Regions from separate parts of the Homo sapiens genome. Here regions 1, 2, 3, 4 and 6 are each linked to region 5. Evidence: promoter capture Hi-C in 16 types of primary human blood cells and fetal thymus (Javierre and others, 2016). All regions are on one chromosome and are shown on one strand. Each heading gives the region's core, a stretch centred on a gene start or on the middle of the fragment in contact. The rest is flanking DNA. Distances are from core to core; before and after follow the strand shown. Region 1 holds the start of ZNF292 (zinc finger protein 292). Region 2 overlaps RARS2 (arginyl-tRNA synthetase 2, mitochondrial). Region 3 holds the start of MANEA (mannosidase endo-alpha). Region 4 has its middle 4.4 kb from the start of CFAP206. Region 5 holds the start of MAP3K7 (mitogen-activated protein kinase kinase kinase 7). Region 6 overlaps SLC35A1 (solute carrier family 35 member A1).

Region 1 (3,373 bases), core at 231-2,730, 3.4 Mb after region 5:
CCGAACATCAACAAAGGCCCCTTCAGTCCTAAGGCGAAACTCGAACAACAAAGGCCCGGAGACAGCCAGGACAGGGCCGGGGCTGGGGGGCGGGACGGATGAAAGCAGGGGAAGGCAAAGGAATCAAACCAGTGGGGGCGGAGGCCCGTCGGAGTGGGAAGCAGAGGCGCAGAGGCGGGAGGCGCGGTAATCCCCAGTGCACAATAAAAGGAGGAGGAGGAAGAGAACCTGGCCTCCATTCTCCTACTCTCTCCAATCCGCACCGTGTACATTTCCTCAGCCGCGGGGACCGCGCAGTCCCGAGTTCAGGGAAGGAAAGGGGAGGGGGGATTTTCCGCCTTGACCGCAACTCCCTTCCCCCAGCCAGGAGCTGCAGACGACAACAACCGCCACAACTGCAGCCACACAAAGGCGCCTTCCTTCTACTCCCGCTCCCACCCAGGCGGAGGCGCCGATGATGCCAAGGAAGCGGCGACCACCTCTCGGCCGCCTAGCGCTCGCTCGCCCTCTTCCCCCTCTAGCTGGGGAAAGGGGGAGGGGACCACCGGGCGCCCTCACCTGGCACAGCTGCTGACAGTAGTCGGTGGCCGCTTCCACGGCCGGTACCCGGCTCTCCCGCAGCTGTAGCTCCAGCTCCTGGAGCCGCTCGCCCAGGCGCTGCAGCTCCGCGACGCAGCCGCCTTCGCCGCAACTCAACCTCTCCTGCTCGGCCTCTTCGTCCGCCATCTTCACACCCCGCTCCGTCGCGTACGCACCTGGGTCACGTGATAACACAATGCCACGTTCGGCGGGGTCACGTGCCGGGCGCGCTTGCACGGCGCCGAGCACGTACAAAGGGCCCGATGGGGAAGATATGGGGGTGGGGAGAGTGGCGCGAGAGAGCCCGAGGGAGGTGAAGGCAAGGGGAAAGGAGAAGGGCGGGGTTGGGGCGGTGCGGAAAACGGCGGTTTACTTACCCCGAGCGGGAAGTGGGCAGCAGCGGCCGAAAGGGGCGGGCTGGTGAAGGCCTGCTCTCGGTCACGTGGGCGCCGCGACGGGAAAAAGCCTAGGGAGGGGCGACCCTCTCCGGCGTCCCGATCCCGGCGTGGCTTTCCCCAGTCCACGAAGTCTTCTACGGACATATCCTCCTGTTCCCCAAGAGGATGGCACAGGGAGAGTTCTGAGTGGTCTCGGGCAATGGCTGCATTTGCTGTTGGCCTGTAAGCAGGCCAGAAGCAGAGGAAGAGAGAGAAGGTAAAACCCGCCCATGGACCGCAAGCGTGAGAGCCAAGGCAGGACTATGAACTGTCAAAATTGTCTCTGACTTCTCACCAGGCCGGAGAGGAGGGATCTAGTGCGTGAGGTACCAGATCTCGTCTCACTTGACTCTCCTCCTCTTCAGCACCAAGAACGCCTGTCCCCTGGAAACACATTCTCTAGGGGGTGGAGGCAACAAAGGAAAAGAACAATTGGGTCAGAGCAGAATGAGGTTCAATCCTCAGTCTGGAGAACGGAGCAAATTCATGAAAAGCATAGTTTAAAAGAAGTCAGAATATGAACAGACCAGATGACTTTTAAACCACGAAAACATTTCTAGAATAAGTGATAACTAACTACTCTGTTTCACCGTGATTTAGACTCTACTACACTCTACAGAAATCACCAACAATGACAACAGGCTATATATGAAAGCTATTGAAAAGAAAGTAGGTCAAGGAAAAAAAAAACACCAATAAGGACTCCATTAAAAATCATAACGGAGGAGAGGAAATTGATGCTAAAATAAAACAATATTGTCGAGAATTATTATAAATATCTACAGCATTTTTTTTTCCTAATGCTACAAATAGAGGTAGCATTCTGAACCACATTTTACTTACAAGCTGAAAAGAATTAATACTTGGCACTTGAACAAAAGAGTAGAAGAGGTGCTACAAAAATCCAAGAGCTTAACCCTAAAGTTCTTAATAAAACTAATATTTTTTTTACCGTTAGAGCATTAGACAAAAGACCTATCTCTCTTGCAACTGAATAGTCTACAGAAATTTAGAAACAATGATATTGATGAGGCACCCAGTCTTTTCATTTACTCTGAGTGAAGTATATTTTTTTAGTACAAGGATCTAAAATAAAAATACTTCCCATTGTGGGCAGCGTCCTCTTCAAAAGATTTCTAGTAATTAATGGAAAGTGTTCTACATACTATGTTGTCCAGAATAAATGTTTTATAACGCATCAGTGATGGTGATGTTTTTAAAGCGGCATTATATAAGGTGACCAGGCACAGTTAAACCCCTTATGAAAAACAGTATCAGTTAATATTACATATTAACAAGGTAGAATCTTCAAATGTTTAATCTTCAAATGTTTACTCATGGAAGAGACTGGGAAGTACATTCAAAGGCTGAGAAGAGAGGATATAATAGTATCACTGAGTTGAAAAAGGAACAATTAAGGCAGCTAATGATTTTTAATATTTTCAGTTCACTTTCCCAAGTTAAGTATTTTAGATACCCAAACCAGGTTTCACCAGTTTATGTTATCTTAGGATTCCAGTGAAAAAATGCAAAAAGGGAAATATGAGGTTAGCCAAATGTACCCGTAAATCCAAGGTAAGGTATCACAGGTTAGCAAGCTCATTTCCACTTCAAGTATAATGGTTTACACCACACCTAATCTATAGAAAGAAAGAAAAAATGGGGGTTGAGGGGTGGGAGACATATATATCCAGATATTGATTTTTAAGAGAATTGCCTGATAATGTAGGTCATTCCTACCTCTTGCACATAACAACCCTAAAACTATGGAGACTTGATTAGCAAATTGATTCTGAGCACCATTACTATCTGGTAAATGTCCATCAGCATGGATGGCCATGTCTTTATGTTTATTTAGTATCTGTGAACCCTATGTCCACATTCCTCCATTTCTTCTCCTTTGCACACACATAGAAATATTTAGAGCCTACAGGAAATGTAAGGATTGGGGGTGAGTGGTGTAATTAACACTCATTTATTGTGTACTTGATATTTGCAGGCACTACTTGGTTTGGGACAAGTCAGAGGCGAATAAAAGCTCTTCCTGCCTTGAAGAAGCTTACAGTTTTGTGGGAAAATGATCTGCAATGGGAATACATACGATATGACAAATGTTCTATTATGAAAATGCATGCCTGTATTCAACTTAGAACATCAAAGTAATCTCAGATACTAACAAGAATGTCCAACGAATCTCTACATAAGTGCAGGCTTTTTTTTTTTTTTTTTTTTTTAATGAGAAGGATTGAAAATACTATCCCGTGACAGGTCAACCTTGTCTTGGAAATCTCAGAAATCTCAATCTTATCCATAGAAAAGTCATGACTTCTGTGCTTATGTCCATTTGTTCTTTAAAT
Region 2 (3,600 bases), core at 960-3,459, 3.0 Mb after region 5:
AGGGTTGGACTCTGATCTGATACAGCGGTTTAAGATTGATAGGAAAAGCAAAGAGTGCAAGAAGCCTTAAGGCATAAACTATTGAGGTTTTCTATTGGAAGAACTAATAGGCCTGGCATGTGGTTCATGCCTATAATCCCAGCACTTTGGGAGGCCAAGGTGGGAGGATGGCTTGAGCCCAGGAGTTCGAGACCAGCGTGGACAACATAGGTAGACCCCGTCTCAACAAAATTTTTTTTAAAAAGTAGCCAGGCATGATGGTGCACCTCTGTAGTCCTAGCTGCTTGAAAGGCTGAGTCTGGAGGATCACTTGGACGGACCCACGAGTTTGAAGCTACAGTGAGCTATGATTGTGCCACTGCACTCCAGGGTGGGTGACAGAGCGAGACCCTGTAAACAAAAAATAAAAATAAAAAACGTGAAAAGCTAATAGATTTCTCATGAAGTTCTTATAATGAATGATTAAGTTATTTGGGCAGAAGTCTTCTAGAACAGTAAAGTTATGCTAATGAAGACAAAAAATAATAAATTCATGTTAATGTAGACAGTAAACCATATCAGGGAAGGTAGTTTTGGACCTTAGTATCTAAGCTGTGTGTAAGGGTGGACGTTTTCCATTCTTAGCCCTTAAGTAAAGATAGTGCCATGATGAGAAACAAATTGTGTTTAGTTTTGCAAAGGCTGTGTTCTTTGTAAAGACTGTAAATTGGACCAGGCATGGTGGCTCACACTTGTAATCCCAGAACTTTGAGAGGCCGAGGTGGGAGGATCCCTTGAACTGAGACGTTCAAGACCAGCCTGGGCAACATAGGGAGACCCCCATCTCTATAAAGAAATAAAAAACAAAACTTAGGTGTAGTGGCACACACCTGTGGTCCCAGCTGCTTGGGAAGCTGAGGTGGGAGGATCGTTTGGGCCCAGGTGGCTGAAACTAGCAAGCTTTGATTGCACCGCTGCACTTCAGCCTGGGGGACAAAGTGAGTCCCTGTCTCAAAAAAAAGAAAAAGATAAGTTGGAGAAACAAGAACTAATATATTGAGTATATATTTGTGCTAGTTACTACACATTCACATTTAAGCTCATGGCAACCCTGTGATATAGAAGTATTAACCTTATTATATAATTGAGTCAGTTGAGATCCACAGAGATTAAATAACTTACCCAAAGCCACATCATCAATACATTGTAGAGTTGGTTTATGAACAGAACTCTAACTTTAAAATTAGATCTTTCCTATATACTGTGCTCTTTGTGAAAGCAAGAAGCACAGTCCAATCATTGAACAGAATCTAATGGATTTATACAGCAGTGTAAATTATGCAGATATATATGTATTTCTCTGAATATAGAGTCATTGGGGAATGATCTGAAACTTGAGGATAAATAATAATATTTTCAATACGTTAGGACATGGGGAAAAAAGAGCAAAGAAAAAACATGTTCCGTACAGTTTGAGCATCCCTAAGCTGGAAATCTGAAATGCTCCAAAATTTGAAACTTTTTGAGTGCTGACATGAGACTCAATGTTCATTGAGTTCATTGGAGCTCAATTGGAAATTGGAAATGTTCATTGGAGAATTCCAGATTTTCAGATTAGGAGCTGGGTATGGTGGCTCATGCCTATAACCCCAGCACTTGGAGAGACTGAGACAGGCAGATCACTTGAGCCCAAGAGTTCAAGACCAGCCTGGGAAACTAATTAGAAAATTAGTTGGGCATGGTGGCACCCTCCTGTAATCCCAGATACTTGGGAGGCTGAGGTGGAAGGATCACTTGAACCTGAGAGGTGGAGGTTGCAATGAGCCAAGATTGTGCCACTGAACTCCAGCGTGGGTGGTAAAGCAAGACCCTGTCTCAAAAAATAAATAAATAAATAAATAAATAAATAAATAAATAAATAACCAACCCCACAGATTTTCAGTTTAGGGATGCTCAACAGGTAAGTATAAAGCCAATATTCCAAAATCTGAAAAAATTCAAAAGTTGAAACACTTGTGGTCCCAAGGATACCCAGCCTGTATTTAATACCTTTGCGAATGAGCATCGTTTTGCTATAATAGTTTAGGAATGAAGGAATGTGTAACGTGCAATGGCAAATGCATTTAGCTAACTTTGATTAATTAGTCGACAGTTTTCTAAGCACTGTCATCAGTCCCAAGGCTAAAAGTGAACGGAAAATAGTTTCTGCCCTGAAATGGCCTCAGACATGCTTGGAAAACGATGTAAACCGGTAATTGCATTGCAGCCTGTAATCACTGTATTAGAAGCATGTGCAAAGTGCCAAGGGAACTTGAAAGCTCCTAAGGGTCAGACAAAGTTTTGTAGAAAGGTGATGTTAGGTCTCAGTTTTGAAAGGGATATGGGTAGGAGTGTGCCAAGTAAATAGAGTGAGAGCTTGGGGAGAGGTCAGGTATTGCAAGAGGAGGATGTGCATAGACACAGACATCTGGAAAGCATGATATGTACATAGAATCACAATATTTGGATTCCTTTCTTCAGCAAGTCCTGTTGATTTTATCTTTATATCTTGAATCCATCTACACTATTGCTGCTGCCTCCCCCTCTCCTTTCTCTATTCCACACCAAGCCCCCATTATCACCTATATTGACTGCTTACAACAGCCTTCTGATGGGGTGTTTGTTTCCATTCTTGCCCTCCCTCCAGTTCATTCTCCATGTATCAAGAAAGGTGACATCTAAATTGTGAATCAAATCATATCACTTATCTTTCTTTGTTGCACGAGTCTCTACCAGAACCTTAACTTCTTCAACTTCCATTCATGCCCCATTCTATCATTTTTGTAGGAACCTAGCTACAATGTTAATTTGTTTTTCTAACATAGCAGGGTCTTTCCATTCCCATTGCGTAGATTATTCCTTGTGCCTAAAAGAAATGCATTTTATACTATCACTCTTTATGCACGATGAAAGTTTCATGAAACAATACTTATTTATACTGTATTCTGTCCTGTTTTATACGTATTTTTTAAGACTGGTGGTTGGGACTCAACAGAATTTATTTTTATTTTTATTTATTTATTTATTTATTTTGAGATGGAGTCTTGCTCAGTCGTCCGGGCTAGAGTGCAATGGCGTGATCTCTGCTCACTGCAAGCTCCGCCTCCTGGGTTCACGCCATTCTCCCACCTCAGCCTCCCGAGTAGCTGGGACTACAGGTGCCCGCCACCACACCCGGCTAAATTTTTTTGTATTTTTAGTAGAGACGGGGTTTCACCGTGTTAGCCAGGATGGTCTCGATCTCCTGACCTCATGATCCACCCATCTCAGCCTCCCAAAGTGCCGGGATTACAGGCGTGAGCCACCGCGCCAGGCAAAGGAATTTATTTCTAACTGGCAACCTATAATTTGAAAAGTGTGTCCTCTAGTTCTCTTAGTCCCTTGTTTGCTTCTATGATGACAATAATAAGAGTAATTGTTTTGTTTTACTTGTTTTAGTGTCTGTTTCCTCTATAAGCTTCATGAAGACAGAACATGTCTTATTCACTCTTATTTCCTCAGCACCAGCAAAGTGCCCGAAACATAAGTGTTTAATGTGTATTTGAAGAATGAATACCTGAGTATCTCTGTTGTGATCTCATA
Region 3 (3,777 bases), core at 610-3,109, 5.0 Mb before region 5:
TGTTTTGTTTTGTTTTGTTTTTGAGATGGAGTCTCACTCTGTTGCCATGCTGAAGTGCAGTGGCGCCATCTTGGCTCACTACAACCTCCACCTCCCGGGTTCAAGCGATTCTCCTGCCTCAGCCTCCAGAGTAGCTGGGACTACAGGCGCACGCTACGACGCCCAGCTAATTTTTGTATTTTTAGTAGAGACAGGGTTTCACCATGTTGGTTGGCCAGGATGGTCTCGATCTCTTGACCTCATGATCCACCCACTTCGGCCTCCCAAAGTGCTGGGATTACAGGCGTGAGGCACCGCGCCAGGCCGCAGAATTTTTTTTAACCTCATTTTACAAATGATGAAGCTGAGCAGTTGGTAACTTTTTCAAAAATCTCTGGGCCAGCAAATGGCCAAGAAACCAATCTAAGGTTAATCACCTAGCAAGGAGCAGATCGAGTCTGGCTCAAGAACTCAAGTTCTTGTCCATGCTATTCTGCCTTCCTTTAAGGTATTAGACAAATCAAATTTAGAGGATACACCAGTTATTTTTGTGACACAAGATGAAAGCTGCTGCTATATGGTTATGTTTTCAATTAAGGATTATGTACCTAATAAACAATGATTAACTGTTACCTACTCCATAAACTGTGCCCAAACTTCATCTAAAGACAGCTTATTCTATTTTATGATCATACATTCACTATTCGTCACACGAATAACAGCAACAGCTCTGGAAATGGTGTTTTCATTGTTGTGATTTTTTGTTTTGGGGGGTGTTTTTCTGCATTGAGCCTGAAAATCCACAAATTCACAGCACTCATGTTTTTTTCAGGTGTGATACACCTGAAATAGATGTATTGTCATGAAAGTGATTTGCAAACAACGTGATACAGTATCACCAATATCTAGGTTTTACTTTATATTTTTGTTTCAAACTACTGCCTCAATACTTTAACGTGAACAGCCTATTCCAGTCCCATTTTTCTTATTTTCAAGTTCTTAATCAACATTATCCCCCCCTTGTTGTTGTTTTATAGCACTTCCACATTTTCTCCTAACACTTATCCGTAGGGTCTTACAACAACAAAACCAAACAGTTATACCTGCCTGTACTTCAAGTTGCTTCTTTGGAAAAAGGAACAACAAAAACACTAATCCAGCACTGTTGCATCCCGACTTAGCAAAGGCTAAGAGTCTAAGATGACAGTGCCAAACACGTTAACAGGTGAACTGAAAAACCATCTCTAGCGGCCTCGCCATCGGGCGGTCTCCTCCCGATGCCCAGAGGCGACAGCTACCTTTCCGTTGCACCCAGAGCCCAGCAGGCCTCGATCCTTCTACTCTCCCGGTCGGCTCAAGGCCCAGAGGCAGTCTGGGGGCACAAGGAGAAGGTGCTGAAAAAGGCTTCCATCCGACCCGAAATTTCCACCTTGTCGGGGAGACAAGGAAAATCCGAGGCGACAGGAGGTACCGTTTCAAAGAGGAGGCGGCGACGAGGCCAGTGAGGTGGGGATAAAGCAGTGTAAAAGGCAGTAAAACTAACGCAGACTAAAACAGGCCTAAGAGTGACAGCCTAGGTTAATCGAGGGGGCTACAGGCTCGCCGCTGGGCGCCACCAGCGCCTGCCAGAGGGGCGCCGGGTCAAAGGGCGCCCGGAGGAAAGCGGCCACCAGATTGGCTGGCGGGCGAGCGCGCAGGCGCCCGCGGTGGACCTCGTGCCTGCCGCCGCTGCTGGCGCCGCCGCCTCCAAGAGGTCTGACTCCTGCAGCTACTCACCAGGGTCGGGTAATTCACTTCTTGCAAGGACTCGGCCAGAGGAGAGGTTAAGACCGCGAACATAGAGCTGACTGCCGCCGCGCCCCGAGCCCAGACAGCCCCTCCTCCCCGAAGGCGCGCGCACAGCGTTCCGGGCGCTTTCAGGGGCGGGACGGGTGGGGGCGGGGTCACGGAGCGGGCGGGGCTCGGGGTCTTCCGGAGCCTCCGGTCGCGGGTCTAAGAGGACTAGGGCGGGAGCGGCGCGGAAGAAAGAGAGGACTGCGTTTTGGGGCGTTCTGTCAGAGGGGAAGGACGTGTGGATTGGAGTCAGACTGCACTCCCGCCCTATTTCTGCAAGTAGAACTCACTGCCTTTAGAAACGGTCTTCTGAGGCTCTGTTGGGAGGCTCTAACTGTATTACAGAGGACACATTTTTGTTTGTTTTTATGTGAAACATTCAGAAGTTGCTTGCATCAAGTGCTTTACAAGTACACTGGTTTTCAAACTTTTAAAGTTGAGGAACTGTTTTGATTTTTGTAAAAATAGAACTTTACTTGGAAGCCCAAGGTAGGCAGATGGAGATGGCGTTTTTAATTTGCGAATGTATTCTATAAAATCACATCTGTACTGAAGTACTAGAAATAATTGAGGATAAGTCAGATGTGAAGAGCAAGAACTTTTGAAATAGGATTACAACTGAAGGTTTCCATCTTACATTAGCTTCAGAAAACAAGAAAATGCTATCTTTTGTTTGGTTACATAGTAACAGGAAGTCCTTATTCAAGCTAGAACTTGCTGATGTGAACAGTTTCATAAGGGCTCTCCTTAAAAAGATTTTGTACACCAATTTTAATTGGGAAATATACATATGAGTATATCTCATGTGCATATCTTAAAGAAGAATGAAAAATGCCCAGGTACCCACTACAGAGCTTAAGAAAAAAAAAATGCCAGTATTTTTGGAGTCTTCTAGAAAGAAGACTCTCTAAAAACATCTCCTTCCTTCCGTTCACCATTATGCTGAATTTTATATTACTCATTCCGTTGTATTTCTGAAAATAGTTACATATGTACGATTCCCTAAAAATACTATTTTCCTAGTTTTATATTTCATATGTGAATCATTCTTCATTTTTCCCCTTTTTTCACTAATTTAGGTTTTGAGAGGTTTTGAGATTCGTCTGTATACAAGTCCATTTCCCATAAACTAGACTGGCACATCGTTACCCTTATGCTATTGTTAGACTTTTTAAGTTTTTGCTGATAAGAGCATCTGATTGCTCTTTTAATTTGCATTTTCCCTTTTGCTAAAGCCTGTTCTTAATTTTATCTCATTTTTTATTAAATTGCTTGCTTTTGAAAATTATTTTGTAGATAATATTTATTTTTTCTAGTTTAATTCTCTCTTGTAAGTTACATGTGTTGCAAATGTCTTCTCTTAGTTTATGGACTGTCTTTCCAGTTTTTATGATGTTTCTTGATTGCCAAAAGCTTTATGCTTCAGTATACAGCTTTTTGAATTTAATAATATTTTACATTTTAATTTTGTGCTTTTTGCTTTCTTGCTTACAAGATTCTTCCCAACATAACATCAGAAACTATTCTTTCTTCTACAAGTTTAAAAGTTTAATTGTAGCAACTTTAAACACAGAAAGGACAAATAATAATATAATGAACACCCATGCACTCAACTCTATGTATTAAAACATTTTGCAAACCCCTCCTCCTAATGATTCTTGTCTAAAATTGCCTTAACTATACTTGGCTCTTTACTCTTTCATTGAAATTTTAGGATGAGCCAGCCAAGATCCATTTAAAAAATTGGATTTCAATTGGGCATTTTATTCAACTTGAGAATTGCATTTAGAGATTTAGTGAAATGTCTTCTTATCTATGAACATGGTATATTTATTTTATTCAGGTACTTTATGTGCTACTATGCTTTGTAATTTATTGAGTATCTTTCATTATATTGCCTCCTAGTTTTATTACTAAAATTAGAGATCTCTCTCTTTAAACTCTATTTTCTAATTGTTTAGTAAC
Region 4 (3,743 bases), core at 525-3,024, 3.2 Mb after region 5:
TATTTTATGACCTTTATCATGGTTATTATTGACAACATCAACTATGACAATATATTTTATACTCCCATGGTTTATTGGACTTCTAGTCTTTGTAGAACTATTTGTTCCTAGTTTTAACACGGCAGCAATGGCATTTAATTAAAAAACACGGAGGAACCAGAGTGCATCCAGAGAATAAGAAAAATTTTGTCAGAATAAGATAGAGAGAACTGGATATATTTACCTTGAGAAAAAGAAGGCATGAGAACTCTTCTCAGTTTTGTTAAAAGAGAAACCAAGTTTTATGTTGTTTCAAAACACCAGATTACAAATCTACATAAAACAGTCTTAAAATAGAATTGTGATGGAAGTCATCCTAGAAGAAGTGAAACCCATTTTATCAAATGTTTTTTATCTAAAAGCTAAAAGATTGCCTTTAAGAATATTGTAGAATTAATTTCTTCTGATTAAGTATCTTTAATATGTCACAAACTGTTCAACATTTAAAGAGAGAATTATATATTTTTCCTTTTCCTCAGGCTTTAAGAAGTTTTAAGCTCAAATGAGTTGAGCTTCTTAGCATGTTTAATAATTTTTTATTGAGCCGGGCACGGTGGCTCACGCCTGTAATCCCAGCACTTCGGGAGGCCAAGGTGGGTGGATCGCCTGAGGTCAGGAGTTTGAGACCAACCTGGCCAACATAGTTAAACGCCGTCTCCACTAAAAATACAAAAAATTAGCTGGGCACGGTGGCGGGCGCCTGTAATCCCAGCTGCTCGGGAGGCTGAGGCAGGAGAATTGCTTGAAGCTGGGAGGCGGAGGTTACAGTGAGCCGAGAGATCGCTCCATTGCACTCCAGCTTGGGCAACAAGAGCGAAACTCCGTCTCAAAAACAAACAACAACAACAAAAAATAATAATAATTTTTTATTGAATACTGGACGTTGTGAATTGCATCCTTGTTCAGTGTCTGAATTGTCCCCCTTTAGGAAGGGTTGTGCTGTTTTTTTCAGCCAGTTATTTGTGGATGAGTTTGATTCATTTGTGGACTGTTTTTAAGCTTTATTAGGGTAGGTCTAGAGTAGTCTTCATTCCAGAAATAATTTGACCTTACTACTAATTAATAACTGCTCAGAGGTCTTCAATGAATTCCTTGGTTTTCACTGAGGACTCTTCACTCTGGCTGGTCAGAGCTCAAATGTCTTCTCATCCTCTGTGAGCTCTAAGAATTATTTAGCTTATACTCCCTGGTCATTCTGTGCTCGACTGTGTGGATTGTCAATCCATACATGAACAGCCAAGTACTTAGCAAAGTCTCAGATTTATGAATTCTATTTATTTATTTGTATAGCTTCATCCCTTCCAAAACTTTGCCCTTCAATTTCCACATCTGTGAACTCTGATCTCTGTCTCCTCAACTCAATAAAGTCCCTAGGCAGTGGGTTTACCTTTCTATGCCCAGGATCTGGAAACTGCCTCCAGGCAGAAATTTGGGGGCAATAATAGCAAACAGTTGTTTTATATATTTTGCCCAGTTTTCTAGTTGTTTGTGGTAGGAAGTTAAGTCCAGTCCTTGTTATTCCATCATGGTCAGAAGTGGAACCTTGGGTAACCTTGGAGAGAGGCTAATAGGAAATAACCATCTGGGAGGGTAGAAGAGTGGGTGGGCTTACTAGAAACTTTCAGTAACTTTCAGTAATTACTGAGAAGTAATGAATGTGCATCTGAGTGTCAGGATCATGAATTTAAAGTGAAAGCATTTTGCCATGTTAAGTGATTTTCTTTGGAAATTATTCAGCAGCTCAGGAGCAAGCATGATCTTGAAGAATGGTTGGCTTGACCAGGAACTAGCGTATTGCCAGACTAGCATTATCATGCTAGACCATGCATTTAAACCAATGTAGAGCAACAAAAGCAATTTACTAGTTTTTTTGTTTGTTTGTTTGTTGTGAGACAGAGTCTCACTCTGTCACCCAGGCTAGCATGCAGTGGCACAATCTCAGCTCACTGCAACCTCCACCTCCTAGGTTCAAGTGATTCTCTTGCCTCAGCCTCCTGAGTAGCTGGGACTAAAGGCATGTGCCACCATGCCCAGCTAATTTTTGTATTTTTTGTAGAGACAGGGTTTCACCATGTTGGCCAGGCTGGTCTTGAACTCCTAACCTCAAGTGATCTGCCCGCCTTGGCCTCCCAAAGTGCTGGGATTACAGGCATGAGCCACCGGCCCAGCCAGCAGTTCTTTAGATATTGTGAAGATCTAAGCTAAATTTTTCAGTTGCTAACAAAGATAGATAATTAACATTTGAAAGAGTACTTTGGAGCTTACAAAGCTATTTCACAGATAGATAACTCATCTGTTCCTTAAAACAGCCTCATGAGAGTGAACATTATTATTTCACTTTACAGATATAGAAATCAATATTCAGAGAGCAAGAGACTAGTCTAAGACTGCAAAGCTACTAAGTTACGGAGCCATCTTAAGTCTTATTGCTCTTATAAGTACTTAAAATGAGGGGAATTCTTTTAAGCTTCTGAAAATTCTAGACTCTTTTTCCCAAAAAATTCATAGAGCCCCTAATTTTATATATAATTTCAGATAATATACAGATTCCCTGAAGTTCATGCAAGTGGCAGTGTACTCTTGGTTTAAAATTTCTAATTTTTTCAGCACTGTAAGACAGGGTGGGAAAAAAAAATTTCTAGTTTTTAACTTGCATCTAGATAGTAGTTACATGGCTATTCACTTTATAATTTTTTAACTGTATAGATATATACATATATACACATATACATACATATATGTACATATATACACATACACGTATGTATATGTACATATATACACATATACACATACACGTATGTATATGTACATATATACACATATACACATACGTATATATACATATGTATTTATACACATATGTATATATGTATATATAAATATATATGTTACACTGACTTTTCTGTATATGTTTTATAATAAAAAATAAAGGCTCAATAATATAGAACTTCTCTACTTTTAGTTGTGCTTTGTGGATGTTAAGCATTAAAACAGAGCTGTATTCCTAAAAAATCCTCAAAAGTTAAAAAAATATATATTGTGTTATTCACTTTGTTTTCATTGTCTTTCTCCATTATTATCCATGTGCTTCACAACAGCTCTCCTTTTTTAAAAAAAACACAACCTGTATATTACATGTAGGGCATCGATTTTGAAACTGTGAAAGTCAGAGTCCTGGAATTAGCTGACAATCTCCTTTTCCAGTTTATCTTTCCTTCTCCACAAAAAGGCTTGATAACGGAGAGGGAAGTTGAGATTTCAGGTCAATAATGAGAAAGAAATTATGGAACAAGTAAGACAATGCAAGTCACCCTTATTTCCGTTTCTCTTAGGATAAGCATGAGCTATTTTCTTGTACTTTCCCATATCCTTTTAGTCAGGAGGATCACAAGATTATTCCTTAACCATCTTCTTCATGGAGATTCTTTTTCAAATGTTATTTACATGGGCACAGATACAAAAAGGCAGAAAAAAAAGCAGATAGTTTCGTTTCCTGATACAAACATAGCATAGCTTCTTGAGTTCAAGGGTCCTGTCTAACCCTTAAAAATCTACTTTTCTTTGTAATTATCAAGAATATTTTGGCCGGGAGCTGTGGCTCACGCCTGTAATCCCAGCACTTCGGGAGGCTGAGGCGGGTGGATCACGAGGTCAGGAGATCGAGACCATCCTGGCTAACATGGTGAAACCCCGTCTCTACT
Region 5 (3,813 bases), core at 539-3,038:
ATTTTTGTAACAAAATTTTGGGGGGAAAAATCAAGCAGGAGAACTGCATCATGGCTGTGGTAATTAATTAGTCCTTTGTCAAGATTCCAGTCCTAAACTGAAGGTACAGGAAACATATCTTACACTCCAGGGAAAGGGAGGACTGACAAAAGCTATTCATTTGTACAGAATATCTAAGTATTTATTGAGTTCCCACCTGGCAGCAAGATCAAGGTGTTAAAAGGAAATCGGATATAGACCTGCAGAGTTATAGCACAAGGTAAGAAGTGACCATCCTTGTTTGGAAATGCAAGGGGAATGACAGGTGAAAATGACTGTCCCACTGATTATATCAGCTTCTACTGGGTATCAGTGCACCACGCATCATTTCACATGCCCTGATTTCTCACTTGGACAACCAACTGGGTGATGGCATCCTTAAGTGACATAGGAAAATAACATAGGAATATATTTGTGGTGGGTGACAACTTTTGAATTTGCTGTGGTATCTTGAAGTTTAGGTGTTTGTCTAAGTAGAGATGACCAATAGGTCCAGAATTCAGGAAAAATCTTGAGTATTTGGAGATTAGGAGTCATCATTATAAAAATAGTATGAGAAACAGAGACCTTGGGTAAGAGCATGCAAAGAGAGAGTGTACAGTGAAAAGAAATTATCGTTTCTTTCATTTTTTTATCCACTCATCAAACTGTCACTGCGTGTCACTAGAACTACGAATAAAAAGTGACAGAATGTTTCCCAGGAGTTTGTAACTTCTTGATGGTCAAATCCAATGATCTATTTGCAATCCCAAATGTGTTTAACATAATTCCACAGTTAGGCTTTATGTCAAACGGACTATATAAAATTCAACAGTTAGTTTAAAACTAAAACTTGTGCTGGTAGTACAACATGAGCAATACTGACCATCTTGGGGACAGAATGATCTAGTTTGTGAGGACCATAATTGCTTTAAACTCTCAGCGTGTTTTCTCATGTCCTGAAAATGGTGACAAAAATATTCGATTTTCAAGGCGACTGTTGATGATTCATTTACCAATCTAAAGCACTAGTGCCCCGCACTCGTAATCCATAACTTGAGATGAACACACCAAATTATAAATATCTTATTCACCTAATCCGTGGAAAGTTTGTAACACCAAAATATTAACTTCTGTTCTTGATCACTCAGCCTCCATAGTTATTCATGTTGCATGATCTGATTCGCTCTTTTAGAATTTCTCATAGCGTCAGGTACTAGCTCAAAATAACAGGAGCAACTGCTTCTTTCCATATCCCACATTGAGGAAAACACATTTTGCAAGCCGTCTTAAAGAAACAGGTCAACTTAGTTTAGGGATGAAACTTAAAAGTAAGCTTCGTCACAAAAAACACAGTTCAACACCACCTCGCCCGGCTGCAGGCAGCTCAGAGGACAGGAAGTGAGGCCAAGACATATTTCACGCAGCACAGACTAAACCCCAGCTTTTATCTTTCCCGCTGGTCCTTAAGGGACCAACCGTACTGATTTTCCGTCATGTTCCGCGCCACTTCCGTTCGCGCACTTTAATTACGTCAGGCGTCCTCTCTCGCGGTATCATCCGGTTGCTGAGGCCCTGTAATAAAGGTCTCGCGAAATTTGTTCTAGAGGTCCAAGTTTGCTTCTTAGCTTACTCCACCCCACCCCCAACCTGTCCCTCCTTTTCTTTCCAAGTCACAAAATTCTCCCCTCCCCTACCCCGGAGTTTACGGCCCTCCTCCTGTTTCCGATTTCAGCCCGGAACCGGAAGTGTAGTGGGCGGGGCCCGTCGGCGGAAAACGCAGCGGAGCCAGAGCCGGACACGGCTGTGGCCGCTGCCTCTACCCCCGCCACGGATCGCCGGGTAGTAGGACTGCGCGGCTCCAGGCTGAGGGTCGGTCCGGAGGCGGGTGGGCGCGGGTCTCACCCGGATTGTCCGGGTGGCACCGTTCCCGGCCCCACCGGGCGCCGCGAGGGATCATGTCTACAGCCTCTGCCGCCTCCTCCTCCTCCTCGTCTTCGGCCGGTGAGATGATCGAAGCCCCTTCCCAGGTCCTCAACTTTGAAGAGATCGACTACAAGGAGATCGAGGTGGAAGAGGTGAGCGAGGCCCGGCATGGAGACGCCGGTCCCGGCCTGCCCCGCCCCCGCCTCTGCCTGGTGCCGGCTCTGAAGGTGCCTCCCGGGGCCCCTCTAATTCGCGGGACCCTGCGGGGTCCACCCGGGAGACCCCACAGCCCTCAGTAACGTGGGAGTGGGGGTTACTCTCTGAGCTCAACTGCTCGGGAGTAGCTGCCTTTTTTCCTCTCTTGGGTACTCTTGATTTTGGATTTGATATTCCGGTGATAAACAGGAGAATGAACTGGTGAGATAGTGTGGTCCACCAGTTCTCGTATCTGTAAGTAGTAGTTTCAGCGAAGATCGTAGCCGTTCTGGAGTTTCAGTCCGCTGGACGTAATGTTCTTTTTTTTTTTTTTTTTTTTTTGAGACGGAGTCTCGCTCTGTCGCCCAGGCCGGACTGCGGACTGCAGTGGCGCAATCTCGGCTCACTGCAAGCTCCGCTTCCCGGGTTCACGCCATTCTCCTGCCTCAGCCTCCCGAGTAGCTGGGACTACAGGCGCCCGCCACCGCGCCTGGCTAATTTTTTGTATTTTTAGTAGAGACGGGGTTTCACCTTGTTAGCCAGGATGGTCTCGATCTCCTGACCTCATGATCCACCCGCCTCGGCCTCCCAAAGTGCTGGGATTACAGGCGTGAGCCACCGGGCCCGGCCGGACGTAATGTTCTTAATGGCCAAAGATTGTATTATATTCGACTTCTACTTCAGTACCTGGCATGTAGGGGATGCTCAATAAATGCTTGTTAAATTAGTAGATCATCAAGTCTAATAAAGTGTTTCCCTTAGCACCGAATGGTTCTCAATTTCTCCGATACCGCACAGCAATACTCGTAATGTTTAAATGCTCGGCTTTCAGTTGGGCTAATGTAGGTGAATTTCACCATAAGTAACATAGACTGGTCTACGATCAAAAGATGTTTCAAGTAGCATATTCTGAAGAGATAACGAATGATTTCGGTGACAATCAGAATATAATATTAGACTAGAAATCGCTATCAGAAAACCCATATCCTTTCTTTATTCTGCAGTAATTTATTTTAGAACAAGATATTTCAAAGTGACTTTAAAGCGTCGTTTTTCAAATTAACAGGTAAATTGGGTTCTAATGACTATAAAATTTAGAAAAGTAAAAACTGCATATATATTTTTTAAAGACACTTTAGAACTTGTTAAAAACTTTGGTTGAAAATACTATCTCTTACCATTTATTTGCCATTTTTTAAATTTATTAAGCACTTTGCGTTATATAGTCCATGAAAAACCTAGTGAAATATTATAGATTGTCAACGAGTTATGTCTACTTTAAAATTCTAAAATTATTTTTAAGTGTCAGCAAGTTCAAAGTAGTGAGATAACGTTCAACAAATAAATTTTTTTTCCTGTGCATGTTTTGGAAGAGTAATGGATTACTGAATTATATATGTTTTATCACATAAAGTAACTTTAGAGATTATTGAGAATATCCTCATTTTACAAGATAATATGGTGGAAAGAGCAAGGTCTTTGGAGTTAGAGGAAAGTTCAGTGTATCAGATATGCCATTTATTAGCTGTGTGATTTGGGGCAAGTTTCCTAACCCCTTTGAATTTTAGTTTACTCTAAGAAAGGGCTAATAAATTCTGTTTCATTTTATCTGCATAACAGATCTTAGTAGACATTATATGCAAAACACCTACCACAGGGCCTGACACATATTAG
Region 6 (3,511 bases), core at 629-3,128, 3.1 Mb after region 5:
GAGCAGAAGTCACTGGAAAGGACCCTATAGGCTTCTTTAAGATGCGCTTTGTTCTCCCTGCTCTACCTCCTACAACTGCCCCTTTCACAAACCTACGAAATAAAACTATGCCTCGCCTCATGCCAAATGACAAAAGCAAGGTCTCAGTAGTAGAAATAGGAGACCTAAGGCAAACCATAGCTATTGACAGGGTATAAAGATGTAAATGCCTGGTTAAAATGTATTAAATATTCCATTCACACTTTAAACAAAAGTAACTGTTACACTTGTGTGCACGGTAGGCTAGAGGCCCAGGTTGTTACCTTTCCACTGGGATGGTCCTCAAATCAAGTGGACATGGAGTGCATGGTAGCTTTTTCAAGATTCTACTGCCTGGAATAACAAATTGTGCTAAGCTCTTTCTCTGCTATTTCCTGAAGTCCAACACCCTGCAGGTCAGCCCCCAAGGGCCATCCAGCCTCCATCTTCCAAAACCAATTTTACCTCGTGTCTCTAACGACACGGGGAAAAATTTGGCATTTCTTGGAGACTTAACAGGATGCAGTGAAGTTAGGCACTTCCAAGAGGTGACCCGTCAATCTGCCCTTATTCATCCCTGAGCGGATGTATGGTGGTATTATGGAGGACCTTTACTGGACACTCTGCCAAATAATTAGAGCAGTAGTTATGCTCTAGTTCAATTGGCTATCCCTTTTACTCTGGCATTTCATCAACCAGAGGAAGGAAAAATAAGACATCATAAAGTGAGAGAAGCTCCTTATAGGTCATTCAACTCTCATGTCTATTTAGATGCAATTGGAGTCCCACGGGGAATACCAGATCAATTTAAAGCCCGAAATCAAATAGCTGCAGGATTTGAGTCAATATTTTGGTGGGTCACAATTAATAAAAACATAGATTGGATAAACTACATCTATTATAACCAACAGCAATTTATGAACTACACTAGAGATGCTGTTAAAGGAATAGCTGAGCAATTAGGGACTAACTGCCAGATGGCTTGGGAAAATAGGATAGCCTTAGACATGATATTAGCAGAAAGAGGAGGAGTTTGCATCATGATTAAAACTGAATGTTGTGCCTTCATCCCAAACAACACTGCCCCTAATGGAAGTATAACAAAGGCATTGCAAGGTCTGACTGCTCTGTCCAATGAGTTAGCCAGCAGCTCAGGGGTAAATGACCCCTTTACAGGATGGCTAGAAAAGTGGTTCGGTAAATGGAAAGGAATAACAGCCTCAATTCTTACTTCCCTCACAGCTGTAATGGGTGTACTTATTCTTGTCGGGTGCTGTGTCATACCATGCATCTGTGGGTTGGTGCAGAGTAAGTGCTCATAGAAATGGCACTTACTAAAACCTCCCTTAACTATCCTCCACCTTATCCAGAGAAGCTTCTTCTTTCGGAAAATTGAGCAGAACTAAGCCAAGGCATGTTAAAGAAGTTTGAAGAGAAAGAGGTGTAAGGAAAATGCAAGAGGAGGGGATTGTTAGATATGAGTTCTAAATTTCTCTTCGAAGAATCAGTATGTCAGTATGTTCAATTCTTTGCCTTCTACTTTTAAATTTAACTTCCTCGTAAAGCAACCTTTTCTGATTACCCTCTCCACCCTGACTCATTCCGATTTCCTGCTCTGCCATAACCATTTTTCCCGCCAAACCACTCATCCCATCACTCTCTTTAAATTAGCCAACTGGAATTAGTTTAGCCTGTGCAGTCTAACCCTAGCCAATAGGGGAACGACAGAGCCATAGAGGCCACGTGCATAAGGAATAAGTCCCCTTTTCCTCCCTTGTCCAGGTGTGCGCTCACCATTGCTCCATCTGTGAGGGCACACCCTTCTATAGAAGGAAAACTGCCTTGCTGAGAAGAAAAAAAGAAAATTTTGTATTCGAGTGCTGTTTTTTTGTGTGTGGCACTGAAACTTTATTTATAACACATATTTTTCATATTCGAACTACTTCAAGTGGATTAGTATAAGCCTTTTCAAGATCTAGAACCAATTTTCAACACTTTCACTCGGTATCTTTCCCAAAATGATAGCCATGCTTGCAGTTGCATTATCAACTGTCTCATCACACACTGCTGAAGCTGAAGCAATCACAATGTCGTGTAACATTTCAATATTTAAATGTAATGTCTGTTTCTACATAAAAGCCTACACACAACACTATTCCTCCCTGCTTCCCTTCACTCACCAACACACATCTTGAAACCTGTATGACTTCTTAACTGCCCCAATGACTCCTATAGGTCCCCATCTCATAAATCTTTCCCCTGGTAATTTACCTATTAGATTTTATTTAATTTTCAGCACCCCATATTATTTTCTCAAATTAAAAAAATGAACAAACTGAAGCTTAAAGAGGTTACAAGTGTGTATGCAGCCACAATCTCAGTCTAGGATTAAAATTAGGTCTATCTCCTCCAATGCCCCTAATTCTTAACCCTCTCTTATACCACATCCTTAGCTAAACAATTCTTGCATGATGTTTTTGATTCAAAGCCCGGTGCTGCCACATATTAACAGTGTAATCTTAAGGAACCTCAGATGCTGCGTCAATAAAACAGGGGTAAAGTACTTACCTTGAAAATGTGGAAGAAGTAAATGAGAAAACACAAAAAACACATAGCACAGTGCCTAGCACTTAACATAGGAAACACTCAAGAAATGTTATTATTATTATATTCATCCAAAACACAAGTCAATAATTGTTTTCTGTAAGGGCCAAACAGTAAATATTTTAGGCTTTGCAAGCCAGTCAGTCTCCATTACACCAAAACCAGGGAGCAAGCTGGATTTGGCCCATGAGACATAGTTTGCCAACTTCTATTCTACAGCAGCGTTCTTCAACCTCAGCAGTACTGACATTTGGGGCTGGATAAATCTTTGTTGTGAGGCTGTCATGGGGATTGCAGGATGTTTAGCAGCATCCTTGGTCTCCACCCACTAGATGCCAGTAGCATCTCTCAAGTTGTGACAACTAAAAAATCTTCTGGGGGGCAAAATCACCCCTAGTTGAGAAACACTGACCCAGAGCAATTAAACATATAAAGATGTAGCTTGAATTTTCTAACAAATACCCTCACCAGGTAGAAAAATAATTTAACACACTATAAGTATTTATACTCACTTAGCTAAAATTCCCACACTTAGCAATAACTTTATAACTTCTGTGATACACACGGCTGTGGTTGAAAAGTAGAGTTCTTTGTCTGATGTCCTTGTGTATCTTAAAGCTATGGTATAGACTGCAGCCATCAGGGTCATCACTGCCAAGCAGTATAACTTGAATAATAAAGTGACATTGTCTGGAAAATACGTGCAACAAAGACATTACTTAGTAGACAATATATGTATATATAAGTTAATAAACTAGTTATAGCCTAAAAATACTTTCCAATTCCAAGCACAAAATATTTTCTAAAACTCATGCTTAAAAATTTTTTTCAAAACAATGTTTGCCAATTACATGAGCGTGCACACACACACACACACACACACACCACA

What was found. The method cuts DNA at HindIII sites, captures the fragments that hold promoters and counts their contacts. A CHiCAGO score of 5 or more calls a contact.
Region 1: a fragment that was not itself captured here is called in contact with the fragment with the promoter of MAP3K7 in region 5 in 7 of 17 cell types (fetal thymus, naive CD4 T cells, non-activated CD4 T cells and 4 more); the score reaches 12.5 in fetal thymus.
Region 2: a fragment that was not itself captured here is called in contact with the fragment with the promoter of MAP3K7 in region 5 in 1 of 17 cell types (naive CD4 T cells); the score reaches 5.6 in naive CD4 T cells.
Region 3: the fragment with the promoter of MANEA here is called in contact with the fragment with the promoter of MAP3K7 in region 5 in 4 of 17 cell types (total CD4 T cells, naive CD4 T cells, total CD8 T cells and 1 more); the score reaches 9.5 in total CD4 T cells.
Region 4: a fragment that was not itself captured here is called in contact with the fragment with the promoter of MAP3K7 in region 5 in 1 of 17 cell types (non-activated CD4 T cells); the score reaches 5.9 in non-activated CD4 T cells.
Region 6: a fragment that was not itself captured here is called in contact with the fragment with the promoter of MAP3K7 in region 5 in 1 of 17 cell types (monocytes); the score reaches 5.1 in monocytes.

The regions. Positions count from the first base shown.
Region 1 is chr6:87,152,945-87,156,317 of GRCh38, reverse strand. It overlaps ZNF292 (zinc finger protein 292), which reads right to left and starts at 753. Exons shown (of 8, transcript NM_015021.3): 1 at 559-753. The coding sequence starts at 726. It overlaps LOC124901355 (translation initiation factor IF-2-like), which reads left to right and starts at 1,071. Exons shown (of 2, transcript XM_047419630.1): 1 at 1,071-1,342; 2 at 3,016-3,373. RefSeq lists enhancers at 446-785, 1,056-1,215. The HindIII fragment of the contact is 3,192 bases long and covers 1-3,076 here.
Region 2 is chr6:87,585,183-87,588,782 of GRCh38, reverse strand. The region is part of intron 1 of RARS2 (arginyl-tRNA synthetase 2, mitochondrial); the gene reads left to right. Among named protein-coding and RNA genes, the nearest start is that of RARS2, 3.0 kb to the left of the region's middle. The HindIII fragment of the contact is 2,536 bases long and covers 942-3,477 here.
Region 3 is chr6:95,575,617-95,579,393 of GRCh38, reverse strand. MANEA (mannosidase endo-alpha) reads right to left here and starts at 1,859. Exons shown (of 5, transcript NM_024641.4): 1 at 1,756-1,859. It overlaps MANEA-DT (MANEA divergent transcript), which reads left to right and starts at 1,943. Exons shown (of 3, transcript NR_104136.1): 1 at 1,943-2,301. RefSeq lists enhancers at 1,260-1,359, 823-1,763 and silencers at 1,560-1,619, 1,900-1,989, 2,040-2,119. The HindIII fragment of the contact is 3,606 bases long and covers 1-3,227 here.
Region 4 is chr6:87,401,681-87,405,423 of GRCh38, reverse strand. No RefSeq gene overlaps it. Among named protein-coding and RNA genes, the nearest start is that of CFAP206, 4.4 kb to the left of the region's middle. The HindIII fragment of the contact is 1,468 bases long and covers 1,041-2,508 here.
Region 5 is chr6:90,585,047-90,588,859 of GRCh38, reverse strand. It overlaps MAP3K7 (mitogen-activated protein kinase kinase kinase 7), which reads left to right and starts at 1,788. Exons shown (of 17, transcript NM_145331.3): 1 at 1,788-2,096. The coding sequence starts at 1,977. It overlaps LOC124901363 (a long non-coding RNA gene), which reads right to left and starts at 2,066. Exons shown (of 2, transcript XR_007059680.1): 1 at 905-2,066. RefSeq lists silencers at 1,656-1,852, 1,849-1,968. The HindIII fragment of the contact is 2,842 bases long and covers 1,357-3,813 here.
Region 6 is chr6:87,477,163-87,480,673 of GRCh38, reverse strand. SLC35A1 (solute carrier family 35 member A1) reads right to left here. Exons shown (of 8, transcript NM_006416.5): 2 at 3,135-3,312. Among named protein-coding and RNA genes, the nearest start is that of SLC35A1, 5.9 kb to the right of the region's middle. The HindIII fragment of the contact is 966 bases long and covers 1,396-2,361 here.